Linked DNA regions of Homo sapiens: region 1 is linked to region 2. Evidence: promoter capture Hi-C in human tissues and cell types (Jung and others, 2019). All regions are on one chromosome and are shown on one strand. Each heading gives the region's core, a stretch centred on a gene start or on the middle of the fragment in contact. The rest is flanking DNA. Distances are from core to core; before and after follow the strand shown. Region 1 holds the start of GIGYF1 (GRB10 interacting GYF protein 1). Region 2 holds the start of MEPCE (methylphosphate capping enzyme).

Region 1 (6,787 bases), core at 4,259-6,758, 260 kb after region 2:
GGGAGGGTTCAGGACATGGCTCTGCCGGCAGCCCTGCCCTGCCCCGCATGACAGGAGAGGTCCATTCGCCGGATGGTGTCTCTGGGCATCAGCACCCTCGCCACCCTCTCTGGGAGGCTGAGACAGGAGGTGTAGTGAAGAACTCGGGGAGGGAGGCAGCCGAGGCCAGGATGGACGTTCAGGGCAAAGATAAAACAAAAACAAGCAAGCAAACAAAAACCCACTAGAGCCACAAATAGCTTACAGAGAAAAGGTCAGTTACGGAGAAAAGGATTAGAAATAAATCTAGGAGCAAAATTCTTTCCCTCATGAAAAAAATCAGTTGGCTGCTCAGAAGCTCAAATCCAGGGGCTTGGTCTGGGGAGAAACCCAGTGAAAAGGAGCAGGAGGTGACTCTAGGGCCACAGACGGGTACACGACAAGGACTCCAGGCAGGCAAGCCTGAGCCAAGGCACCTCGGGCTGGTTTCCCCCACAGGAATCACACCCAGACCACCGCCCCCAATCAATAATGGAGGCTTAAACAACCAAGCCACCAAGGGAACGAGGATCTCAGGATACCAGCTGGGAAGCAGCCTCTGGCACCATCAGGTGGAAATAAGGTCAGGGCAATGGAGGCTGATGGGGGCGCGGCGGCAGCCTGTTCCTCTAAGGGAGGATGGAGGGGACTTTCAGGAGGAGGCGCATCCCTGGGGCCCCAGGCAGAGGACTCAAGCGGGTGGGCGGGGTCCAGGTGCTGCGGTGTTGTCACTGGCTGGGAGGGAGGCTGGCCCGGCTTGGTGCTGCAGCTCCCATCAACTCCAGGACGCCACAGTCTGGGAAAGAAGAGGAAGCGGGTTCAACCAGGGTGCTGAGGAGGAAAGGCCATCAGCCCCAGCTGAGCCAGCAGCCCATGACAAGCCGAGGCCTGCTCAGAGTCCAGGCACTCCAGGGGGAAACACCGGGCTCAGAGGCAACCCAAGGCCAGGCTGGCCTCCCCTGGGACCTCTCCTTCCTCTGCCTCGGCTGGATGCTCCAGTGGTGGTGTGTTCCATGACATGAAAAGCCACCAGCCTGTCACTGACTGCAGGTGGCCACCTAGAGCAATCTGGGGACTGGATGAGCCTTGAGGACATCACGCTAAGAGAAACACACCAGCCAAAAAAGGAGAGCTACCCCTTACTTCTCTTTCATGAGGTCTCTAGAGCAGTCACTCATTGAGGGAGGAAGGTAGAAGGGCAGCCACCAGGGGCTGAGGGGACAGGGAGCTGTTGCTGAAGGGTCCAGAGCCTCAACTGAGGAGGGGATCCTGGGGCCGCTGGTGGTCATGGCCGCACACCAATGTGAGTGTACTTAGTAACACAGAATGGCACAATTAGAGACAGTTAAAGTCTCCAAATTTTGTTGTATATTTTACCACAATAATCATTTTTTTAAAAAAGCTTTAGGGAACAAAAGGTATCTGGAGATAACCACCGCATACCTAAGTTTTCCCCACTCCAAGAAAAACACCCCACATTCCTTCAAATCAGCCTCAGGAGAGGCCATTTTGGGCCTCCTCCAGTTCATTCCTTCTAGAAGGCCAGAAGCTCATCCTGGAGGCATGAGGGTGGGAGAGAGTAGAACAGAAAAGGGACCACCTGGCCAGCACAATGGCTTATGCCTATAATCCCAGCACTGTGGGAGGCTTGAAGAGAGGAGTCCGAGACCAGCCTGAGTAACAGAACAAGACCACGACTCTACAGAAACAATTCTAAACATTTTTTAAAAAAGAAAAAGTGGCCAGGCGTGGTGGTTCATGCCTGTAATCCCAGCACTTTGGGAGGCCAAGGCAGCCAGATCACCTGAGGTCAGGAGTTTGAGACCAGCCTGGCCAACGTGGCAAAACCCTGTCTCTACTAAAAATACAAAAATTAGCCAGTCCTGGTGGTAGGTGCCTCTAATCCCAGCTACTCGGGAGGCTGAGGCAGGAGAATCGCTTGAACCCAGGAGGCGGAGGTTGCAGTGAGCTGAGATTGCGCCCCTGCACTCCAGCCTGGGCAACAGAGCAAGACTCTGTCTCAAAAAAAAAAAAAAAAAAAAATTTAAAGCGATGGCCTCACACTGCCCCCTGCCAGGCGCAGCAAGGGCAGCTCTCCTAGGTGCCTCCGGCTCAAGTCACCCATCCTGGCTGTGTCTTGGCTGCAAGGGGCACACAAAGGGGGAATGGTTCATGCAGACTGAGGACAGCGACACCAAGACAGGGGAGAGAGCAGGCCCAGAGCAGGAAAAAGCCCATGCCACCCGCCTTCTTGGGAAGAAACCAGGAGAGTGAGGTTAACTCTCTAGGCACCCCCACAGCAGGGTCTGGTGCCGGAAGCTGATGGTGCCTGGCCCCTTCCTTGGACTAAAGGAACTAGTGGCACACCTGCAGGCCACCATGGGGCTCCCACCCTCCAACAGGTTCTGGACTGGGGGCACCTCTGCTCCTCAGGGGGCTCTTGGCCAAGTCTAGAGACATTCTGGGTTGTCACCACTGGGCAGGGGGTGCACAGGGCAGCCCCACAGCCAAGAGCTATGTGACTCCAGATACCAAGTGCGCCAGTGCTGAGACACCCTCCTCTGCGCCACGAGCATGGGCACAGCCCTTGGGGGTCTACTGGGCCAAGGGGAAGGCAAGGGAAGGCAGGTGTGTGCACGCTGGGTCATTCTCCTCTCTGAACAGCAGGGACATCATTCCCTAATTACACTGTCCCACGAGGGAAATCTGAAATCCTGCCAGGAGAAAATCTTTGAGAAAAGAATAGATTTTTTTTTTTTAAGAAAAACTGCCTAAGTTTGTCTATTGCAAGCTCTCAGGGCCAGGTATCTGATCCCTGTCCAATGAAGGTAAGAGCAGGAGGTGGCGGGGGCTGGGGTACTGCCACCTGCCCGTCTCAGCTTACCCGGCTGAGCTTTCTCAGCTCAGGGTCTCCTTCTCACAGGCCCCTTCCAGCCTGTCCCCCGCCCTGGCCCTGCCCTCAAGCCTCGGCCTACTTCGGCTCCTCGCCCCTTCCCCACCCCTTCTCTTTCTCGGGCCTGTCTACCCTCACTCCCCCAGCATCTGAATCAATGCTTTTGAAAGACTGCCCCCTGCCGGAGACAAGGGGCGAGGACACGCTGGGCCCGGGTGCTCCAGTAGGCGCCAGGGCGCGCGGGAAAGGGAGCCTGCTCTCTGGGGCTCAGAACTCAAGAGAGAAAGAAAAGACAGAGAACAGGCGGTCCCAGTGCACATTCAGCTAAGAACATTATCTCCTCACTCCATCACCCCTAAAATTAGCTCCAACACAGAGCACTGTGCCTTGGCACAGAACAGAGCCACTTAAACAGAAGCACAGTCCCCAATTCCTCAACACTGGAACAACCGCCCAGCCCCAGGCCTGCTGGAGGGGACCTGGCCCTTTCTCAGGATGGAGATTCTCCAAGCGTGGTAGGGTGAGGACGCTGAGGCTTAAAAAAGAGATGCAAACCCGCATTCTTCGCGGCTGGTCGGTTATCCCAGCTCTCTCCTCTCTGAGCCATCCCAGCAAATCACACCACCGCTTGGCAATTGTCTACAAGTTAACAGTTTTCAAAGGATTTTCACTCTTTACCTCCTGTGATCCCTTTTGCCCACTTGCCCAGCCTTGGGCTCCAGCCAGGGAAAAGAAGGAGGAAGCTGCTCCGACAGCGTGCCCCGACATCCTTGACACTATGCAAGACTGGAGGTGCGCACGGTAGCAGTAACCATCCCAAACTCGCAAGCATTATTCTGTGAGTTTGAAGCCATTTTACATTTGTTAGACTTTCAACATCCTTCATCTAGCCTCCTCCTCTCATCTTCTCTCCTCTAAAGTGGGCTATTTTTCTTTAATTCCCAAATTCCAATAGCAGATGTAAAAGTTAGGGCTAACGCATCAGATCACGAACACAAGACTGATGTGTCCAACAGCAGAAAAAGCTAGTCCAGAAGTTTAAGCACATGGTCCACTTGACTAACCACCACGTGGGACCCTCAGGGCCCCTGGTCCCCAGGCAATGGCAGGGACACCAAGGCCAGGTCTACCCTCAAATCCTTCCCAATGGCACGACAGACCGCTGGGGGACCAAGACCTACAATCTAAGAAAATCAGATTGGAGCTGGCTAGCCTGGTGGAGGGTGGCTAGCCTAGGTCTGCAAAGGGCACAGGAAAGATGGGAAGGAGAAAGAACCCCAAATCCCCCATGTCGGCAGCAAAGGAGAGACCCTTACTGGTACCACCGATGGTGTTTCCATGCCAAAGGCGAGGGGTTGGCGGGGTTCTAAATTGAAACTTCTATATAGACTCGAAGAGGCAGTGCACAAGAGGGTGGGAAAGCTGACGATCTTCCAGAACGACACTTTGAGAGGCAGGAGGGAAGTAAGGCTTGGGTGGCTGGAAAAAAAAAATCCAATCCAGCTAACAAGTCTTTATGTAGCATCTCCTAGTTCCTAGCACTAGGATGCAACAGACCTGGAGTCTGACCGGGAATGCGAGTAATGACTGTATAACAGAGAAGAGAGACGAGGGGCTTTTAAAAAGTTACTCGGAAATTTTTTTGTTTTTTTTTTTTTTTAAGGCAAAGTGTGAGAGCTGTGGCCAGGGAGCTGCTGCACGGAGGGGCATGAGCTGAGAAGGGCCTGGCCTGGGACGGGGAGGACAAGCAGTCTCTGCTAAGGAAGGTATTTCCCGCGGCCGAGCAACTGGGAAGAAGGAGACCCCAATGACCCAGCACTAAGATCGCCGGAGCGAAAGGAAACAGAGGTGAGGAGGACCCAGGCGAGGTGCCTGGGTGGAGGGCAAGGCTTCCATGTTGGCCAAAGTCGTGGAACGCTTGGACCTGGGGAACCGCAAGGCCCAGCTCGTTCCGAGGGGAACCCAAAGGCGCGCTGGGGAGAACTCCGGGAAGCGCGGGGCCCGGCCACCCTAGGACGCTAGGGTCGGGGGCCCCCAGGCGGCCCAGGGCAGGGCTTGGCAGGGGCCCGGGGGCGACCGTTAGGAGCGCGGGGGTGGAAGGCAGCGCGCCGGCCCGGGAGGACGGCGTGCCCTTCAGGGAGGGGCGCCAGGTGCGAGGGGGGCGAGCGGTCGCCCCCTAAGCCGGGCGCCGGCCTCCCGGGGCCTCCCCGAGGCTGGCCGGCTCTGGGGGAGGGTCCCGGCGGCGGGGATGGGCCGGAGCGGGCGGGAGAGCGGGAGGACGCACCGGGCTGCGGCGGCCTCGGGGAGGAGACGGGGGAGGGTCCTCGCTGGCGGCCCGCGCGCTGGCTCCGGCGCTTCTCTAGCTCGCGGGCTCGGCGCGGCCGCCGCGGCGTCGGGGGCGGGCCTGCCCCGGGGCTGGGCTGCGGGCCGGGGGCCGCGGGGCCACTGGGCGCTTACCGCGGGCGGCGCGAGGGTCCGGTCCCGGGGCGTGGGCGGCGCGCGGCGGGCGGGGGCCGGGGACGGCGACGGCGGCTAGCAGCGGGGGAGGGGGCGCTGGCGCTCCCGCGGCGGCCGCTCCTCTGTGTTTGTGTTTGTAGCAAGATGGCTGCCCGCCTCGCACCACGTGACGCGGACGCGGGGCCGCGGGGCCGCCCCTTCCACCGCCGCCGCCGCCGCCGCCGCCGCCGCCGCCGCCGCCGCCGCCGCCGCCGCCGCCGCCGCCGCCGCCGCCTCCCTCCGCGGCTCCGGCCCGCGCCACCTCTCCTCGTGCGCTGCTCGCGTGCCGCGCGCGCCACTGCCCGGACGCCCGTCGCCCCCGACAGCCCCCCCCCTCCCCGCCCCGACACGTGACCTGGGCGCCCGGCTGGTCACGTGACGGGGGCCCCCAGCTGCGGGCGGGATCGGCCCCAGAGCGGCCTCCTCTCCCCCACCTCCCCCGGCCCCGCGACGCGCGACCTCTGGGACCGAGGCCGCGGCCTCCCTGGCGGTCCGGTTTCCTCCAGGAAGCCCGCCTGGATGACAGGAGACAATAAAATCCAGAACCCTTCATCAGGCGTCCTGGGATGTGTGAAATAAGTGGCTCAGGCAAATAAGTTGACTCTCAGGAGCCTCTTTATTTTTTTAATTATTTATTTAATTATTGAGACAGAGTGTTGCTCTGTCCCCCAGGTTGCAGTCCAGTGGCGCGATCTCGGCTCACTGCAGCCTCCGCCTCCCGGATTCAAGTGATTCTCATGCCTTGGCCTCCCGAGTAGCTGAGATTACAAGCACACACCACCACGTTTGGCTTATTTTTGTTGGCCAGGCTGGTCTAGAACTCCTGACCACTCAAGTGATCCGCCTGTCTCGCCCTCCCAAAGTGCTGGGATTACAGGCGTGAGCCACCGCGCCCGGCCCCTATTTATTTATTTTTTTGAAGCAGGGTCTCACTCTGTTGCCCCAGCTGCAGTGTACTAGCCCGATCTCGGCTTACGGCAGCCTCCAACTCCCGTGTCTCAAGCGATCCTCCCATCTCAGCCTCCTGAATTGTTGGGACTATAGGTGTGCACCATCACACCCAGATAACTTTTTTATTCTCTGTAAAGACTGGGCGGGTGGCGTGTCTCATAACATTGCCCAGGCTGGTCTTGAACTCCTGGTCTCAAGGGATCCTCCTGCCACAGCCTCTTGAGTAGCTGGGACTACAGCTGTGTGCCACCACACCCAACTAATTTTTTTAATTTATTGTATTTGTTGTTTGTTTGTTTTCCAAGACAGAGTCTTGCTCTGTCGCCCAGGCTGGAGTGCAGTGGCGCGATCACGGTTAACTGCATCCTGCGCCTCCTGGGCTCAAGCAATCCTCCTGCCTCAAGCACCCTGAGTAGCTAGGACTACCAG
Region 2 (6,315 bases), core at 1,986-4,485:
TCACAGGCCCAACCCCTAAGACGGGGGGCGGGGCGCCAGTTTCAGCACGTGCTGCCTCTACCCGCGCAAGCCCAAAAGGGTGTGCGCAGGCGCTGCCCACTAGGGGGGAGGAAGGAGGCGGGGTGGGGAGGTTGTTGGATTTAGAGCCGGGCGGAGACCGCTGAGACTCATTCCTCAGGAACAAGGGTCGGGTGTCAAGGAGACCTTTTCACACCAGCTCCCGTCCCCCGCCTACGGTGGGTGGGATCGCGCGGCAGAGACAAAGGAGATCAGTAGGGCCGGACATAGCTGCGCAGGGAAGTAGGGTGTCAGTTTGGGGTGGTGGGCTTTTGCGGGGGCTGTGGGGGGGTTATATTTAAACTCCCAGAGCCGTTAAGTTGGTTCGTAGTCTGATGCGCGCGCAACCAGGGTGGTGGCGGAGTGCGCATGCGTGGTTCCCGGGCGAAGGGAACGCGCGCTCACCGTGCGCGCTCGCGGCCGGGTGGTAGTGGCGGAGGAGAAAGGGGTCGGCGCACGCGCGGTTGAGTCCTCGAGTAGTTCGGGTCTCGCGGGCCTCTTGTTTTGGTCTCGCGGGCTAGTAGGGCGCACTTGGCGGGGAGGCGCTTGGGCGCGAGACTAGGCGTGAAGAGCAGAGCTGCGCGCGCACTCGGGAAAGGGGGGAAGGGAGCAGGGTCCAGGCAGGGGGGGTTAGGCCCCCTGATCCCCCTCGTTACCCCGACTGGCACGGAATAAGGGGAGGAAATGATCGAGATGGCGGCGGAGAAGGAGCCGTTTCTGGTGCCGGCCCCGCCGCCGCCGCTCAAAGATGAGTCGGGCGGAGGGGGCGGCCCCACGGTGCCACCGCACCAAGAGGCCGCCTCTGGGGAGCTCCGCGGCGGGACGGAGCGTGGTCCGGGTCGTTGCGCGCCATCTGCGGGGTCCCCAGCCGCTGCGGTCGGTCGGGAAAGCCCCGGGGCCGCGGCCACCTCCTCCAGTGGTCCCCAGGCGCAGCAGCACCGAGGGGGCGGCCCCCAGGCGCAGTCGCATGGGGAGGCCCGCCTGTCGGATCCCCCGGGGCGAGCCGCTCCCCCGGACGTGGGGGAGGAGCGCCGGGGAGGGGGCGGGACAGAGCTGGGTCCCCCTGCTCCTCCTCGACCCCGCAATGGCTATCAGCCCCACCGGCCACCTGGGGGGGGCGGGGGCAAGAGGAGAAATAGCTGTAATGTAGGGGGAGGCGGGGGAGGCTTCAAACATCCGGCCTTCAAGAGGCGCAGGCGGGTGAATTCGGACTGTGACTCTGTGTTACCCTCCAACTTCCTCCTGGGGGGCAATATCTTTGATCCCCTGAACCTGAATAGCCTCCTGGATGAGGAAGTGAGCCGCACTCTCAACGCGGAGACCCCTAAGTCATCCCCCCTTCCGGCCAAAGGGCGAGATCCGGTGGAGATCCTCATCCCCAAAGATATTACTGACCCGCTCAGTCTCAATACTTGCACTGATGAGGGCCATGTAGTTCTTGCTTCGCCACTCAAGACTGGTCGGAAGCGGCATAGACACCGGGGACAGCACCACCAGCAGCAGCAGGCAGCCGGAGGGAGTGAGAGTCACCCCGTGCCGCCCACAGCCCCTCTCACCCCCTTACTCCACGGGGAGGGCGCCTCACAGCAGCCGCGGCACAGGGGCCAGAACCGGGATGCCCCCCAACCCTATGAACTCAACACAGCCATCAACTGCAGGGATGAAGTGGTGTCTCCCCTTCCATCTGCTCTGCAGGGTCCCTCAGGCTCCCTATCAGCCCCTCCAGCTGCCTCAGTTATCTCTGCACCCCCATCTTCCTCCTCCCGACATCGCAAACGTCGCAGGACTTCCAGCAAGTCGGAGGCAGGGGCTAGGGGTGGAGGCCAGGGTTCCAAGGAAAAGGGCCGAGGGAGTTGGGGAGGCCGCCACCACCACCACCACCCACTGCCTGCAGCAGGCTTCAAAAAGCAACAGCGCAAGTTCCAGTATGGGAATTATTGCAAATACTATGGGTACCGCAATCCTTCCTGTGAGGATGGGCGCCTTCGGGTGTTGAAGCCTGAGTGGTTTCGGGGCCGGGACGTCCTAGATCTGGGCTGCAATGTGGGCCATCTGACCCTGAGCATTGCCTGCAAGTGGGGCCCGTCCCGCATGGTGGGCCTGGATATCGATTCCCGGCTCATCCATTCTGCCCGCCAAAACATCCGACACTACCTTTCCGAGGAGCTGCGTCTCCCACCCCAGACTTTGGAAGGGGACCCGGGGGCAGAGGGTGAGGAAGGGACCACCACCGTTCGAAAGAGGAGCTGCTTCCCAGCCTCGCTGACTGCCAGCCGGGGTCCCATCGCTGCCCCCCAAGTGCCCTTGGATGGAGCGGACACATCAGTCTTCCCCAACAATGTTGTCTTCGTCACGGTAAGAGGGTCCAGAGGCTCTTGGAATAGGGGCCAGGTGTGAAGATGAGATTAAATGGGAATGTAGCAGGGAAGGTTATGACCCAGATCCTCAAAAGAGGGGTCTGGGTTGGCAAGTGAGAGCCTCTGCTGGGCGTCTCTCCCCTCTTATAACCTGGAAAGGTGGGGTGTCTACCTTGGGGCATTGACCCTGGAGTCCTTTGTCATGACTGCAAGGATCTCCAAGATAGAGGAGGACTCTCTTTTTGCTCTGCTCCCGGCTTGGCCTATAATCCACACTGGTCCACCTTCCCTTCCCTTGAAGGCTGCTGCTCACTAGGGAATTTGATCCAGGTGGAACTTGGTCCTCAGATTTACTGAAGGAGCCTGAGAATGGGAGTCAGACATGGAATGTCTTCTAGGGAGGAGATTAGGGTAGCGACAGACTAATACTGGCGTTTCTGCCCTTTGATAGCCACCTTGCTCCTATCAGCGGCTTTTGTTTTCCTAGACAGTTTGTTGAAGCGTGTCAGGAACCCAAGTGGTTTGGCTGTAGATCCTCTCCACATTGACCCTAGATAGTGGGAGAGGGAAGAACCAGAAACTCCTCTGCAGAGAGGAGAGAGTCCTGTGCCCTGCAGAGTCCCCTGACTGCACACAGCTCCCCAGAGAACACTCCAGTTAGGCTGCCTACTGGGATCTTTGGCATTGTGTTGGGTTAAGCCTGAAGAATGGTCTTTTTAGAGGGTTGTGATGAGCTGAGCTTCTAGAAAAGGCTTCCTAAAGGATGTGGCTCTTCATTTCTCTCAGAGAAAGGAAAGAATAGGCCTGAAACTTTGCCAGCCCCAACTGCAGGGAAGGAACCACAGGTCTGCCTTTGAAACCTGGGTTAGTTACCCTTGCAGAACCTGCAGTCACTCCACTTAATGTCTGTGAGTGAGAATAAACACAGGATATGGTCCTGGGACCCTAGCTTTGGAAGACTTCATGGATAATTTGCACCATTTAAAATTACTCAGGCTCCGTCGACCTTTTTTGGCTTACCACCAGTAGGAAGAAGCAGAGGCAGGAAGGTGTAGAGGAGAAAACAAAACTCAAAGAGGGCAGGCACCTTTTGGGAGTTAGTCTGAGAAGAAAGTGGCCACGGGCTAAAGTGAGGCCGCGGGACTGTATCGGCCTCAGAGCAGGTTGCCTGGGAGCAGGGGTTCTTTGATTCCCTCAGTTGACCTCACTGCCGATTCTTGCCCTCAGGGTAATTATGTGCTGGATCGAGATGACCTGGTGGAGGCCCAAACACCTGAGTATGATGTGGTGCTCTGCCTCAGCCTCACCAAGTGGGTGCATCTGAACTGGGGAGACGAGGGCCTGAAGCGCATGTTTCGCCGGATCTACCGGCACCTACGCCCTGGGGGCATCCTGGTCCTAGAGCCCCAACCCTGGTCGTCGTATGGCAAGAGAAAGACTCTTACAGTGAGTTGGGTGTTGGGGGAATAGTCATTCCTTTGGTTGAGGCAAGAAAAGGCCCCGAGGTGGGCATCGCCCTTGGCCAGGGGAGGCGGCAGCGTGCTGAAGTGGTCCCTTGCCTCTCTCCTTAGGAAACGATCTACAAGAACTACTACCGAATCCAATTGAAGCCAGAGCAGTTCAGTTCCTACCTGACATCCCCAGACGTGGGCTTCTCCAGCTATGAGCTTGTGGCCACACCCCACAACACCTCTAAAGGTAAGGCTGGTTTATTTTGTCAGGGAGGCTGGTCCTGGCTGAAAGAGTGCAGACCCCCATGGGGATTCTTGAGGTGCTGCCAACCCCTTCTGATCACTCTCTCTCCCCTCAGGCTTCCAGCGTCCTGTGTACCTGTTCCACAAGGCCCGATCCCCCAGCCACTAAGTGGCCCCCTAAACAGAAAGTGTGAAGAGGCTGCCCTCGCTGCTCATAAGGACCTGGGGGAAGAGGAAAGTGTCCCAAGGTCTTTCCTTTCTGACTCCAAAAATAGTTTCCTTTCTTGGATCTGCAAAGAAAGCTTTTCTTCCGTCGCTGCCTCAGCCTCCTCCCTATGCCTCTGGCACCTGCGCAGCAAGGCTGGCTGTGCTGGAGTCACCATCATCTTCCTCTCCCCCAGCCTCCCAGGCTGGATGGCATGGACTGTTTGCTGACCTCTGTTCTCTTAGGGCATGGGAGGTGGGAGGATATCAAATTCTCTAGCCCTTTCCTCCTATTCTCCCAAGGAGAGAGATTCCCATTTCTCCTCGGCCATTGTACCTAGCTCTTGTCCCTAGCTGCATTTCAGTGGACCATGGATAGAGGGACTGAGGGTTAGACGGGGAAGACTGGCAGGGAGGCACGCAGGTACTGTGAAAATCCTTCCCTTTGCCCTCCCCCAGTGGGAGAGGGGGTTGGGTTTTCAATGTGAGAACAGCACAATAAACTTGATGTCTAGGGCAGTGGCCCCCACACCTGTCTCGGTACTGTCTAGCTGGTGGGGGATGGGTGGTGCCTCCCACCAGAACCTGTGCTGTTTATCTTCCATCTCAAGGAAGACACGTTTTTCAGTGGTTGAGCTGATTGTTGAACACTAGTCAAGTCCACACGCAAGTACACAGAAGCCTAGTCAGGAAAAGGTGTGTAATGCAAATTTTGGTGTGGAACTTGGAGTCTGCCTTCCCTCCCCAGAAAAACCCCGTAGACGTTTTGGGCAGAAGGCTAACTTTTTGGTTTTTGTTTTTCTGAGATGGAGATTTGTTCTGTCGTCAGGCTGGAGTACAGTGGTGTGATCTCGGCTTACCGCAATATCCGCCTCCCAGGTTCAAGTGATTCTCCTGCCTCACCCTCCCAAGTAGCTGGGATTACAGGCACGCGCCACCATGCCCAGCTAATTTTTTGTATTTTTAGTAGACACGGGGGTTTCGCCATGTTGGCCAGGCTGGTTTCAAACTCCTGACCTCAGGTGATCCACCCGCCTCGGCCTTCTAAAGTGCTGGGATTACAGGCGCGAGCCACTGCACCTGGCCAGAAGGCTAACTTGGAAAGAGTTGACGGTGGAGGTAGGCAAAAGTGCTTTGGATCAAATGCCCAGGGACGGGCCAGCACCTTTTTTGTGCTGTGGAATCAGACTTACAGGCAATTAACAACATGAAGCTCTTCGGGGGCTTGTTAGGTGTTACTGGAACTTCGAACATACTGAGTATTCAGGTCAGGTGTAAACAGGATGGGCAAGGCTCTTAAAGGTAAAAAGCAAGGAGATAATTTCAGTAACTCAGTGCAGACAGCTGGCTTGCAAGCTCCTTGAGACAGGTAATCATGGAAGGTTTTCGTGAAGTGTGATAGGCTGGGCTCTGCATTTTGAGAGATCAGAATAAGTGATGCAGAGAACAATCGCTACCTGATCAAAAACAGGCAGTAGCTGTGGCTGAAGTCAGGGAGAGGCAGGTAAGGTTGTGAACGGAGGGGTATCTAAGTAAACCTCTAACGTGGACAGTGTTTTCCACTTGCCATGACTCTACCAAGTTCCAAAAAGGCCCCCAAACCCGACTTCCAGGCAGCTTCCAACCTGAGGCTAAGTGGATAACCCCCTAGAGAGCTTTTAACCCCATTTTAGGCCTCCAAGAAGAGTCCCATTTATTAGCAAAATTACTTTATTCTAACAAATAGTTTAACACAAAAATACGAACTAGCCCTCCAGGGATCTTTGGGGTCTACGCTTCCCATCGCCTCAGTGTCCGGTGCATGAGGAAGGTGTCCTCTGAAGGGCGGGGCCGGAGTTGAAGTCGGAGAGGGGGCAGACCGTCCAGGGTCAGGTGTGGAGATTCATAAAATAGCGTTTCTGGGTCACACAAGATGGTCATGTCTGGCCCAGGCCCAGGTGGCTCCTGTTGGGAGGTTGGGCCCAAAGCAAGGTTACACTTTGGGAGGAAGGATCCGGGTAAGG

The links. The method cuts DNA at HindIII sites, captures the fragments that hold promoters and counts their contacts. A contact is called where the count stands out against the background at its distance.
Region 1: a contact is called between the fragment with the promoter of GIGYF1 here and a fragment that was not itself captured in region 2, in 3 of the 25 tissues and cell types used here (adrenal gland, dorsolateral prefrontal cortex and hippocampus).

The regions. Positions count from the first base shown.
Region 1 is chr7:100,688,742-100,695,528 of GRCh38, forward strand. It overlaps GIGYF1 (GRB10 interacting GYF protein 1), which reads right to left and starts at 5,509. Exons shown (of 27, transcript NM_001375765.1): 1 at 5,369-5,509; 2 at 1-814. RefSeq lists silencers at 3,006-3,175, 4,938-5,057, 5,228-5,327, 5,768-5,927, a cis regulatory region at 4,583-6,076 and an enhancer at 6,615-6,787. The HindIII fragment of the contact is 16,890 bases long and covers 1-6,787 here.
Region 2 is chr7:100,429,278-100,435,592 of GRCh38, forward strand. MEPCE (methylphosphate capping enzyme) reads left to right here and starts at 554. Exons shown (of 4, transcript NM_019606.6): 1 at 554-2,412; 2 at 3,642-3,860; 3 at 3,986-4,112; 4 at 4,225-4,841. The coding sequence starts at 742. The coding sequence ends at 4,277. PPP1R35 (protein phosphatase 1 regulatory subunit 35) reads right to left here. Exons shown (of 4, transcript NM_145030.4): 4 at 6,005-6,256. The coding sequence ends at 6,083. RefSeq lists enhancers at 364-503, 1,374-1,453 and a silencer at 774-1,243. The HindIII fragment of the contact is 6,950 bases long and covers 1-6,315 here.